7 separate regions of the Homo sapiens genome follow, and all the other regions are linked to region 1. The links are contacts of gene promoters, found by promoter capture Hi-C in blood cells and fetal thymus (Javierre and others, 2016). All regions are on one chromosome and are shown on one strand. The core of a region is centred on a gene start or on the middle of the fragment in contact, and the rest is flanking DNA. Distances in the headings are between cores, read along the strand shown. Region 1 holds the start of TCP1 (t-complex 1). Region 2 holds the start of LINC02901 (long intergenic non-protein coding RNA 2901). Region 3 overlaps TAGAP-AS1 (TAGAP antisense RNA 1). Region 4 overlaps TAGAP (T cell activation RhoGTPase activating protein). Region 5 holds the start of LOC124901454 (a long non-coding RNA gene). Region 6 has its middle 120 kb from the start of SLC22A3. Region 7 overlaps SLC22A3 (solute carrier family 22 member 3).

Region 1 (4,410 bases), core at 1,568-4,067:
TAACGCAATGCCTAGCAAGTGATACAGGTATGATGCTTGTTCAATAAATAAATAATACATCACACAGTAATGATTTCCAATTTACTCTTACAACTTTACATAGTACTTAAGAAGTCCTTAAGAAATTCTAAAAAATCCTCACCAAGCAGATAAGCAGCAGATAAACCTGATAAACACTTACATGCTGTAGTATAGTGGTAATAACCTAGCGTCCTGGCTCTGAGGTCAGTTAAAACATATGTAAATCTTAGCTCTGGCACTTACTAATCATGTCTCCCTAAACCTCAATTTCTTTGATCCTGTAAAATGGGGGAAATTATAACTGCTTCATGATGTAATTTTAAGGATTAAATGAGAAAAAACATATAAAGCAAGTAGCATAATTCCTGGCAAATGTAAGTGTTCATTAAACAACCACCTTTATAACAAAGTATCTCAAGTCATACTAGACTCCTAACTGGTCTTTCTTCAAGTCCTGCTCCCTCAAAAATTTAATCTTCCAAAAAGCAGCTAAAATGATTTTTTTTTTTTTGAGACAGAATTTTGCTCTGTCGCCCAGGCGCTCAGCTCACTGCAACCTCCGCCTCCTGGGTTCAAGTGATTCTCGTGCCTCAGCCACTGGAGTAGCTGGGATTACAGGCGTGCACCACCACGCCCCTCTAATTTTTATATTTTTAGTAGAGACGGGGTTTCACCATGTTGGCCAGGTTGGTCTCAAACTCCTGACCTCAGATGATCCGGCTTCTTCGGCTGGCTCCCTAAAGTGCTGGGATTACAGGCATGAGACAATGCGCCCAGCCAGAATGATCTTGAAAAACCAATTCGGGCTCAAGCTTTAAATCCTCTCGTAGTTTCCCACTATAATGAAAAGAAAGTCTAAAGTGCTCATCTTGACTTACAAAGCTAATCATCTGTCGCCTCCTTACCCCTCCATGTTCATCTTGGGCCATTCATCCTCTGCCCATTGAGCTTCAGATCCACAAGCCCTTCAGTTCCTCACCCCAGCAGTTTCCTTTGCTAGGACTGCTCTTTCTGGCAGATGACTAGGCTTCTTCCTCTTTCAGATCTCACCTTCTTAAATGTCACCTCAGACAGGCAGGTATCCTGTCCGCTACTGTAACATCCTCTTTAAATAGCCCCCATCACACCTATTTGTTGTTTGTTCCAGCCCCTCCGCGAACCCTGCCTCTACCCGCCGCATGGCAGCTACCTGGGAGAGTGCCTGGAGTTGAATGAATGAAAATAGTCTGTAGGGTGCACTGCCCTTGTCAATCACAAGCAGATTTAATTACCTGTGCCAGAACTCACGGGAGGGAAACACCGTCCGCCAGCCCCGCTCTTTCCTGGCTACAGATAAAAGCTCCAGGTTCCGGGGGTTCCGGTTGGTGAATTCTGGGGCGACAGCTTCATTTTCCACAGGGTCCACTTCAGGTTTCGCTGCCGGCTCGGAGCTGGTTGACAGGGCTGCGAACCTGCACCCTGGGCAACGGGAAAAACCGCACAGGGCTTAAAAATGACGGATATGGACAGCGCACGAACCCGCTCTAACGTCTATCCGCTTTTACACCCCCAATCTTTAGGCCCGAGGGGACGAAAAATACGTATGCCCACAGGGTGGAGTCAGCACTGACCCCGTCCTTAACTTCCTACTGTGGTCTTCGCAGTGCCGCGAGCTCTATTTCGATCCGGCACGTCGAATACAAAATAGAACCCGCACGTTCCAATGTACTGTGCAAGCCCAGGCGAGTGAGCTGGGAGAAGGGGGGCAAGACTAATTACCAGGGTTCCTGCAAACCGAGAACAACCCCCAAAACCGCGACCGAAGCGCCATCGCTGAGACGATCTCGGAAAAGCCTCGCCTCTTTTTCCTCACGGACGACTCAGTCGCTCGCCAGGAGCAGCCATATAAAGTCAGGGACAAGCCTTTGGCTGCTGTAGATCCCCAAACTCTCCACGCCAGACGCCACCGACCCGGAAGTAGCAAGTCCCCTGCCACTGAGTGGCCGAGAAGGCGATCTGTTATCCTTCATCGCCAATCATCGCTCACGTCGAGGGGCACGCAGGCCCTGGAGCCCACCAACCACCTCGTAGCTACGCCCAAGACCACGCTTGTTGCTTAAGTCCGGGGTCAAAGGCACACACCCCACAAAACCATGTTTGGGTTTTCTACTCGGAGAGCTTGGGCGGTCATCGACTGGTCCACACACACCCCACCTGGGCACCGCGTAGGAATAAGGCAGGGCAAGATGCAGTTTTCTCCTTAAAAAGGGTGGTTGTCTTCCTCGAACCAAAAATTTTCCCGTATGGCCCGCTGGAAAAACTGCCCCGTCCCACCCAGGTTCGCGCCCTTAAACTTACACTCCTGAGGCCTGGAGCAAAGCCGGCCGATCTGCCTCACGCTCCCCGAGCAGGGACAAGGAAAAGACACTAAACCTAAAACGCACGACTCGCTCAGAACCCCAACTCTAACTTGGAGAAGGGCCCGCCCCTCCAGTTACACCCCAGCTCCAAGCTCCACCCTTCTTACAACCTTTTCTAGAAGGCACTAGAATGGCCCACTGCGTCTGCGCAACATCGTTTGAGGCGAAGGTTCAACCTCTTCCCAGCGGTCCAACATCCGACTTCCGTTCTCCGCTTTCGCGCCCTTCCCATCGGCTATCTAATTGGACAAAAATGCCGACCCCGCCCCTTCCCCGGAGCCTCACTTCCGTCACAGTCCTGTTTCTCTCCCTGTTGTCCCTGCCTCTTTTTCCTTCCCGCCGTGCCCCGCGGCCGGGCCGGGGCAGCCGGGAAGCGGGTGGGGTGGTGTGTTACCCAGTAGCTCCTGGGACATCGCTCGGGTACGCTCCACGCCGTCGCAGCCACTGCTGTGGTCGCCGGTCGGCCGAGGGGCCGCGATACTGGTTGCCCGCGGTGTAAGCAGAATTCGACGTGTATCGCTGCCGTCAAGATGGAGGGGCCTTTGTCCGTGTTCGGTGACCGCAGCACTGGGGAAACGATCCGCTCCCAAAACGGTAAGGGCGGGCCGGGCCTGGGTCGGGTTTGCGGCCGGGGAGGGCCGAGTCCCACCGCGACCGGACCCCGGCTGCCCTCGTTTCTCTCCTTTACCTCCGCAGAAAGGGCCTCGGGGCCCCGCAGCCGGACCCAGCCCACCCGCCGTTCTCTGGGGCAGGGCGCTGTGGCCCCACTTTTCCCACAGCGAGGAGGAGCCCCGCCGCGCGCGGCAGGGTTTTGAGACCGGCAACGCGTGGATGTGGTGTCCGGGGCGGCGTTGGAAACGCGCCCTCCGCGGGAAAGCGGGCCTCCCGGGCTCGCACGTGCGGGCCACGCCTCGCACCCCCTTTTGTTTCAGGGCGACCCCCTGAGTGTCCATGTTAAACGCCAGGTTTTATTTTAGGACCATTTACCAGAAAAAGAGTAGGTCCATCCGCGCGCCCTCGGATGAGCCCGGTGCCCTGTCCGCCCGCAGCTGCAGTCGAGGTCGGGCGTCCGGCGTCCAGCCGTATCCGGGTTGACAGCTTCTTACAGTAGAGTTAGCCCAGGAAACGCCACTCGAGTGCATTGACCCCAGGAGACGGCAGCGCTAACTTAGCAGAGCGTTTGCTGTCAGGCCTTTGGATACCTACAGAGCTTACTGTTTCTTGATAGATTCCTAATTTTTTTCGTAAACAAATCTGAAAGTCACCACCTTCCCCGTTGACTACCGATTTCTCTCCTCACAGATAAAGAGAGTTTTAATGAGCAAAAAACTTGCAGAATCTGAAGGAAAAGGCTGGTATAGCTGTACGAAGTGGCAGAGCATGAAATTGGTGGTTATTACTTTTTTTTTTTTTCCCCGCCATCAGATTCCACCCCGCATCAAAGCTGTGCCAAATAGGCTCGCTTTGTTTAGGGACAGGGTCCCACCTGTCGCCCAGACGAGAGTGCCATCATAGCTCACTGCATTCTCCAAGCACAGGTCCGCGCCGCCGCATCCGGCTTTGTTTTTATTTTTTGTAGAAATGGGTTTCGCTATGTTGCCCAAAGGGGTCTCAAACTCCTGGCATCAAGCGATCCTCCTGCCTCGGCCTCGCAGTGTTGGGATTACACCTGTGAGCCACAGTGTCTGGCCCCATTTACACTCTTAGTAGGTGGTTTTTAAATAATTAACACAGATTTGTAGATTTGGGAAATACGGGGGCTGTTGGATGTCATTTACCTTTAGGCTGAAATTACTGTCTTTCAGAGTTGTGGCTTATCCTCATTTCTTTTTTATTTTTAATTGATTGTCTACAGTTATGGCTGCAGCTTCGATTGCCAATATTGTAAAAAGTTCTCTTGGTCCAGTTGGCTTGGATAAAATGTTGGTGGATGATATTGGTGTAAGTACACATAACTGTTGTGTTAGTTTCCTTAAAGTAAAACTATCTT
Region 2 (4,410 bases), core at 857-3,356, 920 kb after region 1:
GGAAACTGCCAGCAGTGTCTACTAAAACTAAATATACACCTATCATCCTATGACACAAAAATTCCTTTTATAGGTATATATCCTACTAAAATCAATTATTCATCATACTACATGAATGTTCAGAGCAGCTTTATGCATAATAGCCAAAAACTGAAAACAACCCACATACACATCAATGGTAAAAAGGATAAGTTAACTTAAGTATATTCATGCAATAGAATACTATTCAGTAATAAACAAACTTCAAACTACTGATACGTGTGATAACATGGAGGAATCTTACAGACACTACGGTGGGTGAAAAAAAACAGAAATGCAAAGGTGTCCAATCTTTTGGCTTCCCTGGGCCACACTGGAAGAATTGCCTTGGGCCACACATAAAATACACTAAAATTAACAATAGCTGATGGGCTAAAAAAAAAAAAAAAAAATCACATGGCGGGGCGCGGTGGCTGATGCCTGTAATCCCAGCACTTTGGGAGGCCGAGGTGGTCAGATCACCTGAGGTCGGGAGTTTGAGACCGGCCTGCCCAATATGGTGAAACCCCATCTCTACTAAAAATACAAAAATTAGCCAGGTGTGGTGGCACCAGCCTGTAATCTCAGCTACTCGGGAGGTTGAGGCATGAGAATCGCTTGAACCTGGGAAGCGGTGGTTACAGTAAGCCGAGATCACACCACTGCACTCCAGCCTGGGCAACAGAGACTCTGTCTCAAAAAAATAAATAAATAAATAAAGTCACAAAAAATCTCGCAATGTTTTAAGAAAGTTTACAAATTTGTGTTGGGCCACATTCAAAACCGTGGCCTGTGCGGGTTGGACAAGTTTGGAATAAAGCATAATGCTTGATTGCAATTACATGAAGTTTAAGAGTAGACACAACTCATACTTGGTAATTTAAGTCCAAATGAATAGTGGTTACCTCTGGGGAAGTACTACTGACCGGAAGGAGCAGTTGGAAACCTGGGGTGATGGAAATGTTCTAGATCTTGACCTAGGGGCTAATGACATGTGTATACATATGTAAAACTTCACCCAGCTGTCCTCTTAATTTCTGTGCGATTTATTGTGTGTAAATTATATCAGTTAGGAAAAAATAAGAAAAATGAAGGAATGATGGAGAAAAAAAGAAATGAAGAGAAACGTAACGAAGGAAGAAAGAAGGGAGGAAGGGAGGGAGGGAGAGAGGAAGGGGGGATTAAACCCAAGCACGGAGGGGGAGAGATGCTCCTCAAAAATATGCTATCAGTCATGTAGTGTTATTTATTTATTTATTGAGATGGAGTCTCGCTCTGTTGCCCAGGCTGGAGTGAGTGGCACGATCTCGGCTTACTGCAACCTCCACCTCCCAGGTTCAAGAGATCCTCCTGCCTCAGCCTCCCGAGTAGCTGCCATTACAAGCACACGCCATGGTGACCGGCTATTATCTGCATCTTAAAGATGGGGAAAGTTTGAGGTTTCCTGATGTGTTCAGCGTCACAGACTGGGTGAGTGACTCAAGCTGAGGCTAAAACCCAGGTGTGTAGGGCACCAAAGCCTTTGTGATTCCACCTCCTACAGCTCAGGTCACTTCCTCGGAGAAAGGTGACTCCTAGAAATGCCTCCCACCTGGAACTGATCTCCTCCTGGGAAGAACGTCTGTCTTATCGCCGTCGACCTTAGGCATGGACACCCTTCTGTCCCCCACCCACAACTGTGAGCCTGCTCAGGAGGCACAGCCGCGTTCATTCATTTTAGGCCTCCTCAAGGGCTCAGCGCCTGCTAAGCAGATGCGCGTTCCTGTAGGACAAGGGGTGGCCACTGGAGACGCGGGTGCGACGCAGGCGATCACGCCCTCGGACGACGCTGCGGACTGCGCTTCCTTCCGAAGAGGGAACCGTTGAGAAGAGTGAAGCGATGAGTTATGCCTCACTGGAAACCAACCGCGTCCGTGTGACTCACTTAGAAACTCACTGTTACATATTTGGAGCCTGAGCTGACGACCTTCCGGGTACACGTCAGGCAGAAGCAGGTGCGCGGTGGGAGTGTCCGCCCCGCCCCGCCGGTCGCGCCGGCCCCGCCCCCCTCACCTGCGCGCGCAACCCCACCCCAGCGCGAGGCTCTGCACCGGCCGCGCCCGCCATCCAGCTTTTATATGGCGCTATTTTGGTCGCGCGCCCTGATTGGCCGGGAGCGGGCGACGACACGCTCGCGCGCCTCAGGGAGGGGCCAAGATCTGGGGGAGGGGAGCTTCTGGCAGCCGCGCGGATCCGGGGGCGGCGGGGCGGGACTGCTGCGGTCTCTGGGGGTGCTTTGGGGCTTCTGTGCCTAGTCTGCAATCTGTTAGTGGGGTTATATTTTAATAAAAGAGCTTGTGTGTCCGAAGGGGATTTGCCAAGAACCAAACTCACCCTTCTGGGAGGGAGTTGCCAGATGGCGGGAACAGGCGGCGTAAACCTTACCAGACGTGAGCCCAGGCTGCTCAAGTGTCATTCGCGTCTTGAAGCTCTTGCCCGCCTCCCTTTGCAAGCGCGTCTAATGCCAACTCTACCTTGCCCTTTGCTAAACCAGCCCTCTAATGTGTTATCGTGCCTCACGTCAGACAATGGCTGGGCCTGTCTCTCTTTCCCCTTGGTTCTGTCCTCTGCCCTTCTCTTAAGCCAGAAGAACAAAACACTCCTTAGAATCGCTGGAGGATCTCATTTCCACCACATTCCCGTGTCCGGAGCCGAAGAGCCACGTCTGACCCTCACTGGTCTGGCTGTCCACCAATCAGGCAGCATTGCTTCTCTGAGTCTCAAGGTTATTAAATTTCTTCTGGTGGCAGACTGGTTTTGTACTTTGGTGAAAGTGACCAAATAGGTACGAAGTGTGATTCATCAAAAATTCTTACACTTAAAAAGATAAGCCAAAAGGATCATTCGAAGCCACCACTCCATATTAGATGGGAACTTAGCTTGAAAGGGGTTCTCTTAAGGATTTCTATTTACTTCTTTGAATTACAAATATCATCTCTGGTTGGAAAGCCTATAAACGCCTCTGAGATTTCCTGAGTTCACAACTTTGAAGATCATTTGCAGCTGGATGCAGAAAAAACAAACCTAGTAATTGTTGAATGTGGACATCAATAAGAATTAAGTACTTTTGGCCCAAAGGCAGTGGTTCACACCTGTAATCCTAGCACTTTGGGAGGTCGAGGCAGGAGGATAACCTGAGGTCAGGAGTTCCAGACCACCCTGGCCAACATGGTGAAACCCCATCTCTACTAAAAATACAAAAATTGGGTGGGCGTGTTGGCGCATGCCTGTAATCCCAGCTACTCAGGGCTGAGGCACCGAATTGCTTGAACCCAGGAGGCAGAGGCTGCAGTGAGCAGAGATCATGTCACTGCACTCCAGCCTGGGCGGCAGAGCAAGACTTGTCTCCAAAAAGAACTTTCAATGTGCCAGGCATTTTAAATGCTTAACAGGCATTTCATTTAATCCTCACAAAATCCCCATGACTTAGATACTATTATTATACCCATTTTACAGAAAGGGTCTAGAAAGCTTGCATAACATTGTGTCTGGACTTGGTTCCTGCCAGTGGGTTCGTGGTCTCAGTGACTTCAAGAATGAAGCCACAGACCTTCGCGGTGAGTGTTACAGCTCTTAAAGATGGCCGGGACCCAAAGAGTGAGCAGTAGCAAGGTTTATTGTGAAGAGCGAAAAAGCTTCCACAGCATGGAGGAGGACCCAAGTGGGATGCCGCTGCTGGCTGGGGTGGCCAGCTTTTATTCCCTTATTGTCCCCACCCATGTTCCATTTCTATCCTATCAGAGTGCCCTCTTTTTCAATCCTTCCCGTGACTGGCTACTTTTAGAATCCTGCTGATTGGTGCGTTTTACAATCCTCTTGTAAGACAGGAAAGTTCCCCAAGTCCCCACTGGACCCAGGAAGTCCAGCTGGCCTCACCTCTCAACATGACTCATGCAACACATTAGTACCATGGCAGTGCCGGGATTCACACCCAAGGTTGTCTGACTCCTGTGTGCCCTTAACTACTAAGCTCTGCAGTTTCTTCTTTCCTAACCAGAAACTTAGTCTTAAGCGGGCCCAGAAGGAGTTGGGATCACTACCAGGTGTTACAAATCTTCAGGAAGACATTTGTCCTGCTGCTGGTTTAAGAAAAGGATTGCTACTGTGGGGCGTGGTTGCTCACACCTGTAATCCCCACTATTTGGGAGGCTGAGGTGGAAAGATCACTTTAGCCCAGGAGGTTCAGGCTGCAGTGAGCTGTGATCACACCGCAGCACTCCATCCTGGGTGACAGAGCGAGACCTTGTCTTAAGAAAAAAAAAAAGATTGCTATGTGAGAGGGAAAATAAGGGTGCCTACAGTCTCAACAATCTCCGCTTCCCCTGAGCAACAGACCATATTAAATCTGCAGTA
Region 3 (4,410 bases), core at 1,136-3,635, 770 kb after region 1:
AAATATTCTAGGCTGGATACTTAGTTTATGTTCTTTCTGTAACAGATCTGTTATATTTTAAAACAGGAAATATTTTTTAAACCACAGAATAAGTTCAGCAAAATAAGTGAAGCTTATCTTTGATCAGAGATAAAGGCAAAGAAACCCCTGGCTTCAAATTAAAACCCCATATATGCAAATGTAATTTTATGACCCAAGACTATTTTTTCCTGAGTTTTTTAACTTTAAAACACCAAAGCACAGTGGCTACAGAAGGAAGGTACTTAAGGAGCTGCACCAAGGAATGAAATCGTATTATCACAGGCCTTAATACAACAGGCCAAATTCATTTCGAAAAAATGTATTCAAGTCTTAGACCCTGTGAAAAAACAACTCTTATTTTCAAGAATAGAAACAGCTAGGGGTTTTTTACATCTTCTTACAAGAAATTTCCATCCATTGGCTTTAAATTTTACTTTTCATTCAAAAGCACAGCATGTTTTTATATTGAAAACTTCCTAGGAAAATGAGAGCCATTTTCTCACACTCTGAATCATGGTTTTGCTCTGACTAGGTAAATAGCATGCACCCTCAAACTCTTGCTAGAGAGAGTCACTGAAACCTTTTAGGTTAAAAGGAAATGATTGGTAAATAGCTTTTCTCAATCTGAGTTCTTCTGTAGGAAATGGAAAAACAGAGAACCTACAATTCTAAATAGTAGCATCAGACTCAAATAACAACTTTGTGGGAAAACAAGGATCGATTTGAAAGCTGGGCTCCTTCAGGTCAGACTCAGATTTTGAGGGGCTCTGTGTTTTTATAATTTTGGAGGCTCTCTACAAGAAAAAGAAGGCAAACTTACAAATGCAAATTTAATCATAAACACAAATATGTATCTAGAACAAAAAAACATAAAGCATAAATTTAATAACGCTGACAAATACAGCAAACAAAATTTTTCACCAAAATATGAAATAACATTTTTACTAACTGCCTGGGACATTTCGGTAGTGCTCCCTTTCCTATCTTTTTTAGTTGCATGCTCTTTTAAAACACTTTTTTCCTAAAAAATAAAGATTTAAAATTATTTTCTCTAGTGAGAATAAAAGTTGTTTTTCCTTTAATTTGGCTAAAATTTGGAGTTCTTTCCAACATTAATAGTTTAGAATAATTTATTTCAGCTTCTCAACTCATTGATAATGTCATGTAAATTGTTAGAATTATTGACAAATTTGGAGAAATCTCTGCCAAGTGTTTTTCATATAGGAGCTATAAAATCTGGAAAAATACCTGCAGACTGCTGGTTCTATATATTTCAAATGTTCCTCTACTACCTACATACTGCCAATGTTAGGCTCTGCAAAAAGTGTTCTTCTCGTAGCACACGTCACAAGCCTGGTGAGTAGGCACAGTGGTCAGTAGGACTATCTTTGAAAGCCCCTCCCACCCCAGGATAGTTATGAATAACTTACCTACTTAAGGAAGTGATTGCAAAGCACATAAGTAAATCCCATTGCTATGGCCTGAATGTTTGGGTTCCCTCAAGATTCCTAGGTTGAAATCCTAACCCCTAAGGTGATGCTACTAAGGGGTGGTGCATTTGGGGGGGTGATGAGGTCATGAGGCTGGGGCCCTCATGAGTGGGATTAGTGCCCTATGGAAGAGGCCTGAGAAAGACCCCTCACCTCTTCCACCACATGAGGACATTAAGAGAGAAAGTGCCATTTGTAACCAGGAAAGGGGCCCTCATCAGACACCAAATCTGCTGGTGCTATGATCTTGGACTTCCCAGCCTCCAGAACTGTGAGAAATAAATTTCTGTTGTTATAAGCCATCCAGTTTATGGGATTTTGCTATAGCAGCTGAAATGGATTAAGACATTCACTGAAATCAAACTAAATATATCCATAAGTCAGCTTTCCCTTAGCCTAGTCCTAAAATCCCCATGACCACTCCAGGGCCATTCAACGAGGTAAGTCAGCATGAAAAGAGACATGATTGTGGTTGAAATATTTTTTGTGGCCAGGTATGGTGGCTCATGCCTGTAACCCTAGCACTTCAGGAGGCCAAAGTAGGAGGATTACTTGAGCCCAGAAGTTTGAGGCCAGCCTGGGCAACATAAGGGAGATGCTTTCTCTACAAAATAAATAAATAAATAAATTAGCCAGGCATGGTGGTATGCTCCTGTGGCCCCAGATACTCAGGAGGCTGAGGTGGGAGGATTGCATGAGCCCAGGGAGTTTAAAGCTGCAATTAACTATGATCACACCACCGCACTCCAGCCTGGGTGACAGAGCAAGACTCTGTCTCTGTCTCTCTCTCTGTCTCTCTCTCTCTCTCTCATATAGATGGATAGATAGATTATATATATATAGTACTCTATATATATATTATCTATATATAGGTGATATATAATCTATATATTATAGATATAATATATATATCCATATATAGATATTTTAAAATATATATATGTATATCTTAAAGTACTGACATCTTCCACCACCACTCGTAATCACAGCCACAGGCTGTAAACCACACTGTGGAGAATGGAGGCAAAGTGCAGCTCACCAGGCCCCAGCGCCAGATACTGGATTCCGGGATTCTGTGTGTGTCTGCATAGATGCATGCATTTGCCTCTCCCAACACTGAGGAAGACTCCCCCTGTTACACACTGGGAGCCGGACTCAGAGCTACTCCCCAGCGGAGTGGGACCCAGGGCAGGTGCTCTTTCTACTTCCCATGGTGGCTTTTCCAGCCTTCTTTTCCTCACCATAATAAGGGTGACACATACTCATTAGAGAAAACGTTTTCAGTAGATGGGATTTTTTTAATTACCTGTAGTCACATTACCTAGACACAACCATGGAAAGATTTTGGCATATTTTCATGTTTTTACGGAACAAAGAAATTGAAAACATTAAATTAAATCAAATCTATTTTTCTCATTATTAAAGAAATATATGTTCCCTGTCAAAAATATGAAAAGTATAAAAAACCTTAAAACCATCTGTATTTGTTGGCGAGGGCTGTCATAACAAAGTGCCACAGACTGCATGGTTTAACAACAGACATTTTTTGTCTCACAGTTCTGAAGGCCAGAAGTGCAAGATCAAGGTGTTGGCAGGGCTGGTTGGTTCCTTCTGAGGGCTGTGAGGGAAGGGTCTGTTCCACACCTCCCAGCTAGCTTCTGGTGTTTTACTGGCAATCTCTGGCATCCCTTGGTTGACAGAACATTACACTGACCTCTCCCTTCATCTTCACATGGTGTCCTCCCAGTGTGCAAATCTGTATCCAAATTTCCCCTTCTTATAAGGACACTGGTTTTATTAGATTTGAGGCCCACCCCACTCCAGTATGACCTCATTCTAACTTAAGTAATTAACACACGATTTCCAAATAGTCACATTCTGAGGTAGTGGGGGTTAGAACTTCAACATATGAATTTGGAAGGGGGTGGCGGGACACAGTTCAACACAGAACACCATCCCAAATCCTATGAGCCAAAGAAAACCGATGTTAACAAGTTATTACCAGGTCGTTTTGGAAAGTATGGCCAGAAATTCTTTTGCTACTCTGCTGATTGAGGTTGGGGTCTGTGTCCCCCTTTCTCTGAATCTGGGCAAGCTGGTGACTGCTCCGCTCAGTAATCCTAGTATTCAAGTCATGACAACCCAGGCACCAGGCAGGGCAATGAAAGAGCTTCCAGATGCTTCCAGCCCCCAGCTACCAAGTCATTGCCAGCTTGAGTCTTACTGAGCTGAGGTCTCAGACACCAGGGAATAAAGACAAACCCTCCCTCCTGTGCCCTGTTGAAATTCCAGATCCACAGAACCCTTGAGCACAATAAATGCATGTTGTTTGTGATGGTTAATTTTATGTCTAGACCACAAGATGCCTGAATAGATAAACCTTATTCTGGGTATGTCTGTAAAGGTGTTTGGATGAGATTAACACTGGAATCATAGACTGAGTAAAGCAGATTGCTTTCCCCAGTGTTCCTTCCCCAGTCCATTGCAGGCCAGAACAAAAGGCCTGGAAAGGTAGAACTTGCTCCCTCTGCCTGACTACTTGAGCTGGGACATCAGTCTTCTCCTGCCCTCAAATTGGGGCTTACACCATCAAGTGCCCCTGGTTCTCAGGCCATTCGACTCAGCCTGGAACTGTACCACCAGCTTTCCCGGGTCTCCGGCTTGCAGATGGCAGACTATGGGACTTCTCATCTTCCACAATCCATGAGCCAATTCCTCATAATAAATTCCCTATAATAAAGGTCTTATAATGTATGTATTTATACACTATTGGCTTTGTTTCTGAAGGTTCCAAATACATTGTTCAAGTCAGTAATTTCAGAGGTGGGCGGAGGGCTAATTACCCAGCAATAGTTATACTGTAATATTTCTAGTCAGAAATATTTTCTTATATTATTAT
Region 4 (4,410 bases), core at 675-3,174, 750 kb after region 1:
ATAGTTTTTTCCAAAGTAAAGGCAAGTGAAAAAATAGCAAAAGAGAAAAATAAATAAATAGTTTCAAACTCTGTGCTTTGGCAAAGTGGCGCTGAAAGTGGCCTACTGTGTGAGTCCCTCCTAACTCCTTTCCATGTGATTCGTTGTAGACAGAGGCACAGCCACACGGGAGTGAAATCCACCCCTGGACAGTCAGCCGCAATACTGATGAAGCTGAGAAGCAGCCACAATGCTGTGAGTGCCCCTCTCACATTCATTCATTCACGTTTCCTACAGGCAAGGGCCAAAAGATATTTACCTAATTTTATTTTTTCTCTTTTAGTCAAAAACACTAAACGCCAATAATATGGAGACACTAATCGAATGTCAATCAGAGGTAAGAAAGCAATTTTTAAGACTTTTTATCTGTACTGTGAGAAGGTGGAAAACTTTGTTTTAATTGAATATTATTTGGGTTGAATAGTAATTATAAGAGTAGTAAACTAACATCACACATGTAGTAAATTAAGCACATTAATTAGGATCTTATATGATGACAATCAAGACCTTAATATTGCTTCTAGAAGCTAGAAAAAACATCAATGCACTCTACTGACTTCATTTTTAATATGAATAAAATGCTGTATGTGTGTTTTGTGGGGAAAGACTCGATAGGTTTCTTCAGTCACTATATTTAACTGAAATAAAAATGTTTTTAGGGTGATATCAAGGAACATCCCCTGTTGGCATCATGTGAGAGTGAAGACAGTATTTGCCAGCTCATTGGTGAGTTTTAAAAACATACCGATCTTTTATGTAAGTGCTAACAACCAGTGCTCTTGGTTTGCAAAACCACAGCGCTTTTACTCTACTAGGAATTTTTTTGTATAAGTTGTTCTGTTAAAGACCGCAGAACATTAACCCTTAAATGGCAGGTATGCTCCAACTCACTAGAGCAGGGAGTGCTGGGAAAGGAAAGAGCCTCTCCATAGAGAATCCCCAGTTCTGCCAAGCGTTTTTAATGCGGTTCAATCTCCTGGCCATGTATGTTTCGACAATTAGCATGCACACATTTGAAAAACACACAGTGTCTTTTCCATTTTCTTCCTTCTCTTATGGAGAATGCATCCAAGAGCCTATGAAGCAACTGTTGCTGATCTCAAATCCCAAAGGACCCACCATTCACTCTCAACTTTTTTCATAATGCATTTCATTATAGCGTAACCCTGACCCAGTTCTCCTGAACCATAAAGACAGGCCACTTCTTTCTCATCATGCTTCCACTTGCCAATCTGAAATGTATAGAAACAGATGCCAATGCATTTAGAAAATATAGCCTTTATAATTAGTAAGAAAGGAGAAGGAAGGAAGGAAGGAAAAGAAAAGAAAGAAGGAAATGTTTGAGATTGCAATATCCATTGCACACACATCTTGTGGATTTCAGAAGGACAGAATATCTTGATAACGTTTTGCTGATAATTCCCAGTTGCCAGATCTAGGTTCAAGGCTTCCCGCAGCGATTCGTATTTGCCTCTGTCCTAAAGCAGCAACCTGGAAAACCCAAGGTGACCAGTCACCTGGAAGGAAAAATGGTGTTAGCTCCCTCTAGTGGCTGTTTAGTGCCTGCGTGGCTGCAAAGGGTTGGAGCCAGCCCTGCTATGTGCCTTCGAAAAGATATTCAGCAAGTCACTTCCTCACCTTTTAAGTTTCGTTTTCTTCGCCAGTTAAAGGAGGAAATCAAAATAATCTATTTCATATCAGAAATTTCCTCTATAGTTATTCAGGCCAGTAGGTTAAGATGGTTGTTTATGATCAGCACAGTTAGGTTTTGCTAATTTTCTGTAGCAAACAGCTGGAAAGAGTGAAAACAGGAAAGGTGGAGGCCTTGAGGAACTCTGGTGTTGCTGTTTAGGGAACTGGTTGCCCTGGTAACAGTGTGGTTGTTTATCGGTTGGTTTTTCTAGATTAAGATTCACGCCCTTTGCTTTCTCAAGTTTTCAAAATTATTTTTCTCACATCGCATACTATTGACCACATTATGCGGCCAACGATACCCATTTTCTTACCTGGATCTTTGCTTCTTAACACTGTAGTCTAATTTTTCTCGTTGCCTTGTTTTCTTGGCTGTAGAAGTTAAGAAGAGAAAGAAGGTGCTGTCCTGGCCCTTTCTCATGAGAAGGCTCTCCCCTGCATCAGATTTTTCTGGGGCTTTGGAGACAGACTTGAAAGCATCGCTATTTGATCAGCCCTTGTCAATTATCTGCGGTGACAGTGACACACTCCCCAGACCCATCCAGGTAGGCGTGCATTCTCTCATAAACCTACTTCAGTTTTCAGTTGGACATGCAAAATACTCGGGAAATCTGAATGTCATTCTCCTATTAAGTTTGTAGGGACTGATCTTCCATATTTTCCACTCTTCAACATGGCACTCCCACATACGCGTGCAGTCAGAAGAATATCTGACTGCTTCCATTCCAGAAATTGAAATTAGTTGTATTTGCCAATGAGCTCAGAGCTATGGTCCCGCCATTCCTCTGACTTCACAGAGTGGAGAATGCTGAAGATTTGTAGCTTCTGAAAAGTCAAAAGGGGGAAACAGAATATAGACTTTGTGATCTGAAATCCAATGTTCATATGGAAGTATTTGAAAGGAGAGAGCTCCAAAGTGATTTTAGAAAGTGCAAAATTAGAGCTTTCACAATTTGCCTCCTCTTAGAAAAATAGCAGGGTTGAGGAAGGCCATTGACAGCAACTGGACTGAAAGCAAAATCTGACATCAATATTCCTGTTAAGACTATCTCAGTATACTAAAGAAGAAGGGTAACCCTTTCCTGTTCCTATTGCTGTTTCCTTTAGGACATTCTCACTATTCTATGCCTTAAAGGCCCTTCAACGGAAGGGATATTCAGGAGAGCAGCCAACGAGAAAGCCCGTAAGGAGCTGAAGGAGGAGCTCAACTCTGGGGATGCGGTGGATCTGGAGAGGCTCCCCGTGCACCTCCTCGCTGTGGTCTTTAAGGTGAGTTCAACACACTTGCGCCAAATAACCTGCCAAGGGGCCCTGACACACTCATTCTCAGGATGCAAGAAATAGGCTCTTCTCCCCACACAGCAAGGTACACTGATCTTGGAGTTTAATTTTTTTCATTAAGCCCTTTATTTATTTATTTAGTAAGCACCTCTGTTTCTGTGACCTCAGATTCCAACAGAAAGTGATGCATTCTGCTCTCCCAAAACTTTGCCAAGTACGGGCAATTTGATTGTTCCGTGGCAGAATCCATACGTCAAAATCCAGTGGCCCCTCAGAACACACCCACCTGGGGATGGTGCCTCTGACTCTGCCTGATGTTAGAAAGTTGCAGAGAGGCCAAGGGTGTTGGAGAGAGGGTTCCCTGGATTCATCAAATGCAGGAATGAAGGGCCACAATCTATGATGGGCTAAGCATAGAGCACCCTGCGATGGAACGAAAACCGGGTGAAAACAAGGACATGGGACATCATACAGTACCAATAGGCCAACAGCCCACTCTCATCCCCCAGGACTTCCTCAGAAGTATCCCCCGGAAGCTACTTTCAAGCGACCTCTTTGAGGAGTGGATGGGTGCTCTGGAGATGCAGGACGAGGAGGACAGAATCGAGGCCCTGAAACAGTAAGTCATCAAAGTCATCGGTCATTGCCAGGCCACATCACCTCCGTCTTTTGATTCTTTACACAGCTTTCTAAATGCTTCATGATCCCTGTTCCATGAGAATTGTGATGTTTAGGGAATCCGAGTGGAATTGCTCGTCCACTCCCAGAACAAAAACCAGAGGGTGCCCTGGACTTTTGAATTTTAATTTTAGCCAAATGAAATATTTCTTCAAAAAGTAGAAAGCGAACTTCAATCCTCACAAATCCCAAGAGGTAGGGAAGTCTGAAAATGTAAGATGTTCAAAAAGGTATGAGATAAAATCAGACCTGAGAACTTTAACACAGGCTCACCAGCAAAGTGTAGAAATTCGGGATTATCTTTAAGCTACACTGACTGGTGTCATGCAAGGCAACAGTTCTCCCATAAAACATCCCTCAGGATGCAGCCAGACAGTGTGGTGGGGGGCAGTTGTTTTGTTCATAAAACTTCACAGCATATTTCATCTTCTTATAATTAACCCAAATGAAAACTATATAATAACACATTCCAGTGAGAGTAAAAATAATAACATATGCAATGGAAAGTGTGATCTGTTAGTGACTAGAGAATTCTAAAACCCAAGCTTTGAAATGTCAGCATGGTTGTCACATCCTATGAAAGTTTATCTAAATGTTATAATTGTCCCACATGGCTAAATACTTTCAATGACATATGTATAGAATTGAAGACATTAAAATGTCTGTCCCAAAATGAAAATTCTAAGATTATCACAATGAGTTTCTACCTAGACATAAGGC
Region 5 (4,410 bases), core at 688-3,187, 730 kb before region 1:
GCACTCCAGCCTGGGTGACAGAGCAAAACTCCATCTCAAAAATAAATGAAATAAAGAATTGGAAGTGTTTGCCTCTGGAGAGAAGGAAACGCAGTAATTCTGTAAAAACAGAACTTTTTACTTTTTTTCTTTTTTTTTTTTTTTTTGAGACAGAGTCTCCTTCTGTCACCCAGGCTGGAGTGCAGTGGTGCAGTCTTGGCTCACCGCAACCTCTGCCTCTTGGGTTCAAGCAATTCCCGTGCCTCAGCCTCCCAAGTAGCTAGGATTACAGATATGGGCTGCTATATCCAGCTAATTTTTTTTTATTTTTATTAGAGATGAAGTTTCACCATGTTGGCCAATCTGGTCTCAAGCTCCTGGACTCATGATCCTCCTGCCTCGGCCTTCCAAATTGCTATGATTACAGGTGTGAGCCACCATGCCTGGACAGAACTTTTTGACTCTTTAAACTATGTGCATATATAAAGCTGATTTAAAAAAAACCAAGTAAAATAATTTTAAAATGTTCCAAAACAGATTGGATGGGTACACACTTCATCATGAGTGGTTGAGGGAGACTGGGTTAGAGATGAGGAAATTCCAGGGACTGGGGAAAAGTTAAAATGACAAACTGTTCACAATTGTTAACTGCAGGTTGTGGGAAAGTTGGTAAGTTGCTACAGTGTTTGTTCCCTCTGTAGGTTTGCATATATTTAACATTTCTTAAATTAGCATAATAATGAACTGTGTAATCAGCTGTAGAGTTGAGGGTGTGGAGCTGGCACAGGACAGCTGAGCTACTGGTTTAAAATAAATGACATTTAAAAAAATGGCTATTTGTAGAATTAACAGATATAAGACACCCTGATCAAGGGATGATAAGAAAGGACTCCAGGGCTCTGTCTCAGCTGTCTTGGCAACACCTGGAAGACATGGGCCTCTGCAAGGTCTCATACTTTCAGGAGGTGTTGATGAAGGATATGGACAGATCTGAAGCTCTGGGCACTGCATGGTCTGAGAAGAGAAGCTCCGGAAACGCGGGAGCTGAGTGCAGATGCAGAAGGGCTGTCATCCAGCAGAGGGGTAGGTGACAACTGGCCTAGCGAGTGACCCTTATCATGGCTACATTTGTTGATCACTTTCTTTGTATGAGGCACTGCTGTGATTGCATTAAATTTCCACTTACCTAAATCCAACGTTGTGCACTTGTGAATTTCTACTCTTACAAAAAACACAACGGCAACAACCTCAAACCAGTAATCTAGTCAAAAAAGCAATTCCCAAGGCATGACATTCAGATTCATCAGCACTCACAGAGACTACAGTGATTGCTGATAACGCCAACTTAATACCTGGCCAACAGCATGGATCCTGACCTCCACTTTTCTTGTGTGTTTACAGAACCACAAAAAGGTGCAGTGTTTTCATTTTTGTTGCATGTTTCACAGGTCTATATAACCCACTTTTAAAGTAAAAAAGGGTCTTAGTGATGAACAATAAAAGTATAAATTCAATACACCATATACCTTTGTCATATGACTATATATAGACTTTTACATACCCTTGCATATGGATCATATGGATCAAATTAGTAGATGAAATAGAATTTTTAAAAAATGAAATATTTTCTGGTTATCAAGCATATCAGCTACCTTTAAAATATTAATTTTACTGTACTTATATTAATTATTGAAGCTTAAACTTCAGAATAGTGGAGGATAAAAGTAAAATATAGCAAAAAGATTTCTCCTTTATTACTTCTTTAAATCAGAGAAAAGACATTTAAAGAGAAAATAGGAGTATCTTCCCCACTCCACATAACTTATGAAGTAAGCAGCTAATTGATCATATCATAAAGAGGCACCAGATAAAATCTGTGTGGCTCAAAATATTAGGAGCACTGCTTCTGTGAAATCAGTTAAAGTAAACGCCCATATTGGTCATGCATTGATACACATGCTTATTTTCCTAAGTGAATTCTCCACAATTCTGAAAATCAGTGAAAAGATCATCTCATGTTAGTTCCACACAAAACCAAGCAGTGCATGTGACTGTCCATGTTTCCAGGCATACACATCCCGTTTCACCAGGATCAAAGTGCCCAATGGGAAGCAACTTCTTGCCTTTTAAACCAGATTCAGTAAACAAAAATTATTTTGCATAGCTGACACAGGAGCACATCGATTGCATGAAAAAGGTCACTCTGTGGAAGGAAGCTTACAACGTCAAATTGAGAGGTGACAAAGTGCTAGCAGCCCTCGCTCACTCTGGGCGCCTCCTCGGCCTTGGCGTCCACTCTGGCCATGCTCTAAGAGCCCTTCAGCCCACCACTGCGCTGTGGCGGGCCCCTCTCTGGGCTGGCCGAGGCGGAAGCCGGCTCCCTCTGCTTGCGGGGAGGTGTGGAGCGAGAGGCGCGGGCGGGAGCCGGTGCTGCGAGCGGCGCTCGCGGGCCAGCGCGAGTTCCGGGTGTGCGCGGACTCAGCGGGCCCCGCACTCAAAGCAGCCAGCAGGCGCCGCAGGCTCCTGGCAGTGAGGGGCTTAGCACCCGGGCCAGCAGCTGCAGAGGGTGCGCCGGGTCCCCCCAGCACTGCCGGCCCGCCCGCACCGCGCTCGAATTCTCGCTGGGCCTCAGCCGCCTCCCCGCAGGGATAGGGCTCGGAACCTGAAGCCCGCCATGCCCGAGTCCCCCCTCCCCCCGCATCCCCTCCCGGTGCCCCGCCTCGTGCCGCTGTCGCACGTCCATTGCCGGCATTGCCGGCGCGCCTCGCGCGGTCCGGAAGCATCAGTGTCCTCCCGGAGGCCTAGGGCCCGCTGCGGCTCCCACCCTGGCGACCCTGGATTGCTCTCCTCACTCTCAGCCTCACGCCCCACTTCTTCCACCCCAAATTTTGCGGCCTCAGAAGGACACGAACTATCTGCTGGCTGAAGTCGCTTGGGACAAAACCCGCCACAGGATTTTGGGAGCCGGGCACTCCCTCCCACGGGAGGCGAGGGCAAAATGTGGGGTCTGCTGCCCCCTGCCGGCCTGGCTGATGTTTGCTTCTGTTTCCACGCTGCCCAGCAATGTTCCAGGTGGAGCTTGTGGAAGGTAAGGCTGAGAATAAATGCTGTTTGCAAATTCCAGAAAAGAAAAAAAGTAGCTCTTCTCTTTAGCAATAGGTTTTCCCCACCCAGCCAGAACTTCTGTAGGTTGTATTTAACTCTTAAGTGCGTCAGAGCTATTTCCTGCCGTCGCTGGCATTACCCTACCCTAGGCAGGGAAGTTTCAGGACAATGTCTGAAAACTCCAGGCTCTTGAATGAAGCAACCTTTCACATTAAGTATGTAGCGTAATCTACCAGGTCTCCTATGATTTACCATTCATGCAAAAGGAGCAAGTTTCTGCAAAACAGGGCTTTCAAAGAGCCTTTTTCACGAGAAGAAAATGTTGGAAGAGCTGATTTGTAGCGTATTTGTTGTTTTTACATCTAAAACTAATCGCATTAAAGGTAGTTAGGGGTATGAATGATAAATAATGAAAAGGATCAAAATAGGAATGTTTCATTCACTTTAACCTGGCCCATGCGGTGCACTTCAGGCCCTAGACTCTGGTTTGAACTCTGCCATTTCTGCCATTCCTTGGCTTTGTTTGCTTCATTGCTTGGACTTTCAGACTGATTAGAGTTCTGTGAATACAGTAGGTGCTCAATAAATCCTTATTCTGGGTAGTGCCATTGATGCCTGTGGCAGTGACTGCAGATTGGAGGGCTCCTGCAGCAACGAGGCGTGGGGCTGGAGGGCCTGGCTCTGGCATCCAACCCTGCTCCATCTGCCACACTAGCTGTGTGACTTTGGGGGAAGTTATGAACCTCTGCTGAACTCTCTATGGGTAAAATAAGAGTGGTAGTAATAGCGCCTCCCTCATAGGGTTGGAGTGAGGAGTAAGTGAACTAACCTGTGTAAAGGATCTCGTGGTGCCTCATATATGTGTAAACTATTCATCGGACAGGGGGCTAGTATTAGAATATACAAGGATCTCGAACATCTCAACAGCAAAAAACCAACCCAATTAAAAAAAAAGGGCAAATGATCTGAACAGACATTTCTTGAAAGAAGACATACAAATGGCCAACAAATGTATGAAAATGTGCTCAACATCACTAATCAGGAAAATGCAAATCTAAACCACAACGAGCTATTGTCTCACCCCAGTTAGTAGGGCTATTATCAAAAAGACAAAAAATAAAAAATGCTGGTGAGGATGCAGGAAAAAAAGGGAATTTTAAAAACAGTTGGTGGGAATTTAAACTAGTGCAATTGGTCTGAAGAACAGTATGGAGGTTCCTCAAAAAAATACAGATAGAAGTACCATATAATCCAGCAATCTCACTGCTAAGCATTTATCCAAAGCAATGGAAATCGTTAAATATCAAAGAGACCTCTGCATCCTCA
Region 6 (4,410 bases), core at 674-3,173, 680 kb before region 1:
CACAGGATATTGAAAAAAAAACTGCAGAATACTGTCTATAGTGAATAAACACAAAAAGACTTAATAAAATATTGGGATATTAAATCCAGCAATATTAAAATGTATTTTTATCATTAATGTGATGAATATCACAAAAAAACTGGAGCTTCCCTTTGAGAATGCAAGGTTGATTTAACATTTGCAAAACAAACAATGTAATCCAACATAATAACAGAATAAAAGTGATAAATCACATGATATCCATAGATGCAGAAGGAAATATGAGAAAATTCAACACTCTTTCATAATAAAATGTCTCAGCAAACTAGAAACAGAATGGTACTCCTTTAACCTCATAAAGGGCATCTGTGTAAAACCTCCATCAAACATCATGTTAATGGTGAAATATTATTGTTTTTTAAGATTGGGAATAAGAAAGATGTTTGCTCTCAATACTTCTCATCACCACTTCACTACAATGGTCACAGCCTTTGCACCAAGACCCAAAAATGAAAACAAAAAGAAAGAATGAAAAACCAGAAGGAAAACCTGATTAATGGATGCAGACAGTCCTAAAAAATATACACATGCTCTGTGTATAACAGTTAATTGGTATTCTGTATACTTTCTATGATCATTTGGAAAAATAAATGTTTTAAAGCAATATCACTGACAATGTTATCAAAACCAAAAAATATTTAATGATAAATTTAACAAACTATGCACAAGGACTATACAGCTTGCACTAGAAAACGTTGTCAAGGAAAGAATTAAAAGATCTAAATAAAGATACACCATGCTTATAGATTGAAAGGCTCAATATCACTTCTCATCAAATTGATCTTTGGATTAAACTCTCACCCAAACACTATTGCTGCAGTCCTTTTTTGGAAAAAATGTGGAGGACTTACATACCTTAATATAAAGACTTATAAAGGTACAAGAATCAAGACGTGGTATTGGCCAGGACCCTTGGCTCATGCTTGTAACCCCAACACTTTGGGAGGCTGAGGCAGGAGGATGGCTTGAGCCCAGGTGTTCAAGACCAGCCTCAGCAACAGAGCGAGACCCTCTCTCCACAAAAAAAAATGAACCATTAGATGGGTGTGATGAGTCACACCTGTAGTTCCAGCCACTCAGGACACTGAGGGGAGAGGATCACTTGACCCAGGAGGTCTAGGCATGAGTGAACCTTGATCATGCCACTACATTATAGCCTGGATGACAGAATGATACCCTATCTCAAAAAATAAAAAGATATGCGTTATTGGCAAAAAAGTATGCAAAACTAAAAAGGGATGGTCCAGCACCAGACCCACATACATATGGTCAATTGATTTTCTATATAGATGACAAAGCAATTAAATGGAGACAATAATCTTTTACAAAAATCATTCTGAACCATTTGGATATCCATGATAGAAAACAAAAACAGACCTTGACTTTTACTTTTCATCTCAAATTAATTTGAGATATCTCTTCCACCTAAGTGTCAGAGCTAAAACTGAAACTGAAATATGAAAGTTCCAAGAGAAAATATAAAATCTTCACAACCTTGGAGAAGGCAATTTTTTTTGACAGAGGAGTCATTAACACTAACTATAAAAGAAAACAAATTATGATGTGGGCTTTCATAAAATGAAAACTCATGCCCACCAAAAGTCATTTTTAAGAAAATAAATAAGCAAATAACACATGAGAAGAAAAATGCTCTCTTTCTATCTATCTGACAAATGGCTTGTGTCCAGAGTATAGAAACATTTCTCCCACTTGCTAAACAGGGGACAAACAACTTAATCAAAAAAGGCAACAGATTGAATAGGCATTTCTCAGGGATGGATACACACAAAACCAATAAGCACTTGAAAAAATGTCCAATATCTCAGCCATGAAAAATAAAGAATTATAACCATCATGAGATGTCACCAAACACCCAGTGGACATGGATATTATTAAGAAGACACCACAGTAACTGATGTCACTGATGTAGAGCAAGGATATGCAACTCTCTCGTATGTTGGTGGAAGTGCAAAATGATAAAACCACTTTGGAAATCAGTCTGATGATTTCTCCAAAAGTTCAATAAAGACACATCTACTCTACAAATCTGCAATTCTATTCCTGAATATTTACCCAACAGAAATGAAAACATAATTCCACAAAGAGATCTACAAGAATATTCATAGCAGCTTTATTTTTTATACCCCAAACTGTAGGCAACTACAGTGTCAATCAATAAGAAAATGAATAAATAATTTGCGATCTATTCATACAATGGCATACTATTCAGCAATAAAAGGGAGCACATTAATGATACTCTCAAATAGCATGGATGAAGCTCAAAAATATTACATTAAGGAAAGATGTCAGATAACACAAATGAACATTATATATGAGTCCATTGATATAAGGTTCCAGAAAGGCAAAAATAATTTCTCTTGAAGGAAACCAGTATCATTTGCCTCTGGCCATGGGAAGAAATTAGCAGAGATTGATTTTGCCGTAAAACAAAAGTTGTTTCTGGGGTGATGTAAATGTTCTGTGTCACGATCGTAACTTGCGAGTTACACAAGTGTACATGTTCATCAAAATTCATCAAACTACATCTAAGATCTGTGCATTTGACTATACATGAAAGTGTACCTCAGTTGAAAATAGATAAAAAAATCTCCTTCGAATACCACACTTGCTAACATATCCAGTTGCTTGGAGAACCAGCCTCCTGTAGCTGGGAGTCTGGGCTTGAGACTGGGTCACATGTGTAGAGTCTCTACAGAGATAGTGTTGCATTCCCATGGTACATAATACATTTCAAGTTTTCTCAGACAGCCACAGGCCATGAATGTGAGGATTCTGAGAGGTTGAAGCAACATTCCTGGGAGGAACGAAGGGGAGCACATTCTCCAAGATGCCCCCAACCCTGGGGTCCTCACCTGCTGTGCCTCTTATTCAATTTTTTTTCTGCCTCCTCCATAGTCAATTGACCTCTTCAGATCCCATAGTCTAGCCAGCCATCTCCCTTTATGCCTTGGGTCCCACTGTTCCTTCATCTCATCCCCCATTCCCTCAGTCCCGGAGTGGCTGCAGCCAGCAGAGGATGGACTGAGAGCAAGAGAGGAGGTCCTGCCCAGGAACCCATCCTAGAGAAACAGCATCCTGCCTGGGAGCTAGTCTTCCAGTTCAGCTTTTATAAGTCTTGTAGACTCAAACCCACTTGACCCACCTGAAATGGTATTGACAGTAATACTATTTTCATGGTTGTTTTTCATTGTAAATGCAGAGCCTTTTAGCTACACAACGAGTACAGAGAGTAAGGGGGCTGGCCTGGGAATGATATCATCTTGGATGGCATTTCCTCCTTGGAGAAATATATGTTAGTTCCAACTCACATATTAATATACAATCCTATAGAGAGAGATACAGAGAGCTAGAGAGACATAGGTGTATTTGTATGTGCATAAAAAATCTATAAGACACACTTCAAAATCTATACCGGTTCCTCCAGAGGTATGTGTTTGGCAGAAGGTAGAAGGAGGGTATTCTGGTCCTTTCTTAAGCACATTTATATATGATCTCAGTTTTTATATGGAGCATTGATAGGGTTTGGCTATGTCCCCACCCAAAATCTCATCTTGACTTGTAATCTCTATAATCCTGATAATCCCCATGTGTCAAGGGCAGGACCAGGTGGAGGTAACTGGATCATGGGGGCAGTTTCTCCCAGGCTGTTCTCATGACAGTGAGAGAGTCTCCTGAGGTCTGATGGTTTTGTAAGTGTCTGGCATTTCCCCTGCTTCCACTTACTCTGTCCTGCCGCCTGTGAAGAAGGTGCCTGCTTTTCCCTTGCCTTCTGCCATGATTGTAAATTTCCAGAGGCCACCCCAGCAATGTGGAACTGTGAGTCAATTAAAACATTTTTCTTTGTAAGTTACCCAGTCTGTCTCGGGTATTTCCTCATAGCAATGTGAGAGCGGACTAATACAAGCATATACTACTTTTGATATTTTAAAATAAAAATTAGAATCTATCTTTTAAGGGTATGCAGTGGGTTAGAAATTGAGGACCCAGCCGGGAGCAGTGGCTCACGCCTGTAATCCCAGCATTTTGGGAGGCCGAGGCAAGCGATCACCTGAGGTTGGTAGTTCGAGAACAGGCTGACCAACATGGAGAAACCCCGTCTCTACTGAAAATATAAAATTAGCCAGGCATGGTGGTGCATGCCTGTAATCCCAGCTACTTGGGAGGCTGAGGCAGGAGAATCACTTGAACCCAGGAGGCGGAGGTTGCAGTGAGCCGAGATCGTGCCATTGCACTCCAGCCTGGACAACCAGAGCAAAACTCTGTCTCAAAAAAAAAAAAAAAAAAAAAATTAAAAAAAATTAAAAAAAGAAAAGAAATTGAGGACCTTTTTTGTTGTAGTAATTGTATGGT
Region 7 (4,410 bases), core at 837-3,336, 660 kb before region 1:
CAGATTGTACAGCAGATTGGTTCTTATTGCTGGAACAGGGCCTAAACCATGCCTGGAACCCCAGCTGTTACAGAGGAGGTGGACGGGAGGGACTCCTGACCTGTTCACATTGCGAAGGTGTGCGGAAACCAAGGTGAGCAGAGAACATGAATGCTCACACCCTTTGGCCCAGGTGCCTGTGATTCAGCCTTCTCATTAACAGGATTCCCAGATGTTCATCCTCCATGCAATCTTCAGAATGAATGGTCAGCTAGGAGCTTAGTCCCTTGACCAGATTTGATGAACACATTTCTGTACAACTTTCTCAAATCCTTGGTCGGCACATCCCACATTCTTGATGGAGCTGTCATGAGAATCAGGTTGGGGGCTTCTCTTGTCTCTCTTTAGCCTAATGGGTCAGAGACCACAGGGAACACAAGAAAAAAACCCAGGAAGGGCTGTGCACCTGACAGCTTCTTTGTTAAACTGGCTACATATTATGTGTTCCCAGAAACTTCAACAGCATTACAAATCCTAACTCATCCAACATTATATAAAAATACTCTGGATAGATTGAGGTCTTTATACAGTATTACAACAGCGCGGCATGATGTAGCTGAAATGCACACGTGCATCTCTGCAAGGCACAGCTTTGCAAGGAGGATCAGCTCCTGGATAGCTCCTTCTTTCTGTCTTTGTCGGGGGCCTCAAAGGTGAGAGCGGGAAACTGGGGTTTTCTTATTCCTGCCACATTTACAGGAATGTGGACTGAAAAAACAAAGGAGAAAGTCTTTAGGAAAGATTATGTAACTAGTTAGAAGAGGGTGTTCTGTTATTATTTAATAGTATAGCTGGTTTTGATCAAATACATTCATGAAAACCCAACTCTAAGGTAACAACAATATCTGTCTCCAGGATCATTTTTTGTCTGTGTTCAGACCTTAGGGGTGTTGCAGGAAGTCAAGGACCCTGAATGGAGGGACCAGCTGGAGCCACAGCAGAGGAATATAAATTGTGAAGATTTCATTTTGATATGGACATTTATCAGTTCCCCAAATTAATACTTTTATAATTTCTTATGCCTGTCTTTACTTCAATCTCTGAACATAAATTGTGAATATTTCATTTTAATATGGACATTTATCAGTTCCCAAAATTAATACTTTTATAATTTCTTATGCATCTCTTACCTTAATCTCTTAATCCTGTTATCTTTGTAAGCTGAGGATGTATGTCCCTCAGGACCACTACTGTGTTAACTGTACAAATTGATTATAAAACATGTGTGTTTGAACAATATGAAATCAGTGCACCTTGAAATAGAACAGAGTAACAGCGATTTTCAGGGAACAAGAGAAGACAACCATAAGGTCTGACTGCTTGTGGGATCGGGCAGAATACAGCCATATTTTTCTTCTTGCAGAGAGCCTATAAATGGATGTGCAAGTAGGGAAGATATTGCTGAAGTCTTTTCCTAGCAAGGAATATTAATAATTAAGACCCTGGGAAAGGAATGCGTTCCTAGGGGGAGGTCTATAAACAGTCGCACTGGGAGAGTCTGCCTTATGCGGTTGAGATAAGGACTGAAATACACCCTGGCCTCCTGCAGTACCCTCAGGCTTACTAGGATTGGGAAACCCCGCCCTGGTAAATTTGAGGTCAGACCAGTTCTCTGCTCTAGAACCCTGTTTTCTGTTGTTTAAGATGTTTATCAAGACAATACATGCACCGCTGAACATAGACCCTTTTCAGTCATTCTGCTTTTGCTCTTTGTCTTGTGATGTTTGTTTTTGCCCTTTGCCTTGTGATCTTTGTTCTCCTTTTTGCCCTTTGAAGCATGTGATCTTTGTACCTACTCCCTGTTCTTACACCCCCTCCCCTTTTGAAACCCTTAATAAAAACTTGCTGGCTTTAAGGCTCAGGTGGGCATCACAGTCCTACCGATATGTGATGTCACCCCCAGCGGCCCAGCTGTAAAATTCCTCTCTTTGTACTCTTTTTATTTCTCAGCTGGCCAACACTTATGGAAAATAGAACCTATGCTGAAATATTGGGGGCTGGTTCCTCTGATACAGGGGTTTGTTAGCATTATAGCATTTAAGTTCTTTATGAACTTCTACTGAATTAACATATATTTGGAAATGAGCTGTTAACATGAACAAAAACCAGCAGAAACGATAAAATAATCCAGTGTGATTTTTAAAAGGGAAATGCTAGCAAGTTTTAGTAATTTAGCACTAAGTAATTTTTGTAGAGTAAATAACCATGGATCACAATTAATGTGCTTAAATTGTAGCACTGTAAACCATACTTCTACTATATTTTTTTTCATGTATAGAGACTAGGTATAATTAATTAATGTACCCAACTTTTCATTATGAAAAATTATAAACAGAAAAAAATTAGAAAGAATCTGGGTACCTTAAATTTTTGCTGGTATAATCCTTCATGTTTATATGTTAGTTGGGTATTGATTTTCCTTGCACACCATTTAGACAACCCCCTTCCACCCACACTCCCCAAGCCAAAAACAAACAAAAACAAAAACAAAAAAACCTCTCCTAGCTGTTTATTTTTAATGTTACTGAAGCAGTAGAAAAGTCTTGATTTCAGAGGACTCCCTTTTCTTCCATTTTTTCCTGATGAGTTTGCAAATCTGATCCTGATTGGTTTGGGGATAAAGAATGAAAGCATCACTCTCATTGTGTAAACAGAAGGCAGTCAGTGGAATAGAATCAAAGGGAAGAAAGCTGTTCCTCAGGATTTTTTATATATTAAAAATATTTAGAGCTCCATGTTCTTAATTCCTAAGTCATTATTAAGATTGCTTTTTAGTTGTTAAATTAGCTGTTACATCATTTTTTAAAACTACACAAGCAACACAAGACTACGTGTTCTAATTTTTAAAGAAAATCAAACAGTATGGAAGTCTCTGGCAAGAAAGTGATGGTCCTCCCTTCCCTACCCCTCTTCCCAGCCCATTTGTGTCCACAGAGGGCACATATTAATATTTTACATCTTGTACTATACATTCTCATATTCATATCTCTATGTTTTAATGAAAAAATTTCAAACAATTAGAAAGAATTTGTGTAATGTGAATTTTTCTTGACATTACTCCTCATGTTAATATATTGGCTGGGTATTAGTTTTACTTATACCCTATTTAAACACCCCCCTCCAAAACTCAATCTCTCTATCTTCCTACTAATGTTTATTATCTATCATCTATTATCTATTTATCTATCCACCTATCTATCCAGACATTACCTATCATCTACCTGTCTATTTATCTATCTGTATCTATCTATCATCTATCATCTATTATTTATCATTTATCTACTATCACTTATCTATCTATGATTATCATCTATTATATCTATCTATCATCCATCTACCTATTATCTATCATCTACCTATTATCTATCATCTGTGTGTCATCTGTCTTCCTATCCAGCTGCAGAGAGAAAACACCTTTGGTTTTAGTTTTTTATAAATACTATAACATGTTGTTCAGTGACATTTCACTTTGTAGTCAGTCTTGAAAACCTGCCTATGCCATTCCATCTAGACAGACCTGACGCATCCTCACTCTGTAGAGTAAGCCACACTGTTAATCCCCTGCTGCTGTATGTCCCAGCAATTTCCACTTTCCCACATCAGCAGTTCCTGCCTTTAGATCACTTCTGAGTCTTAGCACCTTATGTGAAAATGCTTCTCTCTTCACAACCACATTAAAAAAAACAATGCATACTCTTATCTAGCTCTGGAGGGTTTTTTTTATGTTAACCTTTTGTATCTACTTTGAATTTTTTGCTTACAATATGAGATGAGGATTTATTCTTATTTTTTTCCCTGTGGATATTCAATTTTCTCAATGTCATTCTTTCCCCCGTGGTTTTAAATATTGCTTTTATTTAGGGTGCATTGAATTTTGTACAGTACCTGCCAAGTTTTTCTACATCATCCACTGTCTCTGGCAAGGCAATACCCTTGGTTTCAGGCAAAAGCATCACAAGGCCACCACAGATGGATGCCAGGATACCTATGGAATAGGGGAAAGGTGTTACCGCTCCAGGAAGACACAGCTGGGCCCTCTCCCATGGGGCCTGCTCACTCTGAAGCCATCATGTTGCTCACTGGAGTAGCTCTCAACCACAGCAACCTCTGCATCCCAGATCAATGCCCCAGCTCTCCCTTACCACAGCTTCAAAGGTTCTCTCCCTTCCTCAAACCCTGAGTAGCACCACGGCCCCTGTATACCTGGCAGCCATGTGTTCACTCACACATCTCACAGTGATTGACTGAGTTCCTTCTTAGGGTCCAACACCCAAGGCCTCCTCTCCTGCATCACAGGGAAACAGAAGTGCTGGAGGGGAGTCCCCTCTGCGCCCGCTCACTGACACTCTCACTTACCTGCCCCTCTCCCTC

Evidence for each region. Contacts are between HindIII fragments. The CHiCAGO score rates a contact against its expected background, and 5 or more counts as called.
Region 2: the fragment with the promoter of LINC02901 here is called in contact with the fragment with the promoter of TCP1 in region 1 in 5 of 17 cell types (activated CD4 T cells, monocytes, fetal thymus and 2 more); the score reaches 9.7 in activated CD4 T cells.
Region 3: a fragment that was not itself captured here is called in contact with the fragment with the promoter of TCP1 in region 1 in 1 of 17 cell types (neutrophils); the score reaches 6.3 in neutrophils.
Region 4: a contact is called between a fragment that was not itself captured here and the fragment with the promoter of TCP1 in region 1, in 1 of 17 cell types (naive CD8 T cells). The highest score is 5.4, in naive CD8 T cells.
Region 5: a fragment that was not itself captured here is called in contact with the fragment with the promoter of TCP1 in region 1 in 7 of 17 cell types (total CD8 T cells, total CD4 T cells, naive B cells and 4 more); the score reaches 9.3 in total CD8 T cells.
Region 6: a contact is called between a fragment that was not itself captured here and the fragment with the promoter of TCP1 in region 1, in 1 of 17 cell types (total CD4 T cells). The highest score is 5.6, in total CD4 T cells.
Region 7: a fragment that was not itself captured here is called in contact with the fragment with the promoter of TCP1 in region 1 in 2 of 17 cell types (naive CD4 T cells and activated CD4 T cells); the score reaches 6.5 in naive CD4 T cells.

What each region holds. Positions count from the first base shown.
Region 1 is chr6:159,788,009-159,792,418 of GRCh38, reverse strand. TCP1 (t-complex 1) reads left to right here and starts at 2,817. Exons shown (of 12, transcript NM_030752.3): 1 at 2,817-3,014; 2 at 4,276-4,361. The coding sequence starts at 2,951. It overlaps MRPL18 (mitochondrial ribosomal protein L18), which reads right to left and starts at 1,952. Exons shown (of 4, transcript NM_014161.5): 1 at 1,780-1,952; 2 at 1,293-1,479. The coding sequence starts at 1,831. RefSeq lists enhancers at 1,765-1,824, 1,855-2,034, 2,291-2,954, 2,955-3,619. The HindIII fragment of the contact is 4,019 bases long and covers 836-4,410 here.
Region 2 is chr6:158,867,510-158,871,919 of GRCh38, reverse strand. It overlaps LINC02901 (long intergenic non-protein coding RNA 2901), which reads right to left and starts at 2,106. Exons shown (of 3, transcript NR_160980.1): 1 at 1,943-2,106. RefSeq lists enhancers at 1,113-1,786, 1,717-1,886, 1,787-2,459, 2,460-3,132 and a silencer at 1,967-2,286. The HindIII fragment of the contact is 6,622 bases long and covers 1-3,530 here.
Region 3 is chr6:159,014,100-159,018,509 of GRCh38, reverse strand. All of the region lies in intron 1 of TAGAP-AS1 (TAGAP antisense RNA 1), which reads right to left. Among named protein-coding and RNA genes, the nearest start is that of RSPH3, 16 kb to the right of the region's middle. RefSeq lists a silencer at 3,787-3,987. The HindIII fragment of the contact is 4,542 bases long and covers 115-4,410 here.
Region 4 is chr6:159,039,944-159,044,353 of GRCh38, reverse strand. It overlaps TAGAP (T cell activation RhoGTPase activating protein), which reads left to right. Exons shown (of 10, transcript NM_054114.5): 2 at 150-234; 3 at 323-376; 4 at 699-765; 5 at 2,110-2,276; 6 at 2,839-3,000; 7 at 3,522-3,631. The coding sequence starts at 208. TAGAP-AS1 (TAGAP antisense RNA 1) reads right to left here. Exons shown (of 5, transcript NR_183546.1): 4 at 3,299-3,435; 5 at 1,298-2,556. Among named protein-coding and RNA genes, the nearest start is that of TAGAP, 2.8 kb to the left of the region's middle. RefSeq lists enhancers at 1,660-1,929, 2,503-3,702 and a silencer at 4,371-4,410. The HindIII fragment of the contact is 4,627 bases long and covers 1-4,237 here.
Region 5 is chr6:160,518,623-160,523,032 of GRCh38, reverse strand. LOC124901454 (a long non-coding RNA gene) reads right to left here and starts at 2,683. Exons shown (of 2, transcript XR_007059844.1): 1 at 2,201-2,683. RefSeq lists silencers at 2,290-2,399, 2,470-2,549, 2,590-2,719. The HindIII fragment of the contact is 521 bases long and covers 1,677-2,197 here.
Region 6 is chr6:160,467,843-160,472,252 of GRCh38, reverse strand. It overlaps the pseudogene LPAL2. Among named protein-coding and RNA genes, the nearest start is that of SLC22A3, 120 kb to the right of the region's middle. The HindIII fragment of the contact is 8,277 bases long and covers 1-4,410 here.
Region 7 is chr6:160,447,333-160,451,742 of GRCh38, reverse strand. It overlaps SLC22A3 (solute carrier family 22 member 3), which reads right to left. Exons shown (of 11, transcript NM_021977.4): 10 at 3,925-4,024; 11 at 1-747. The coding sequence ends at 687. Among named protein-coding and RNA genes, the nearest start is that of SLC22A3, 100 kb to the right of the region's middle. The HindIII fragment of the contact is 4,713 bases long and covers 1-4,410 here.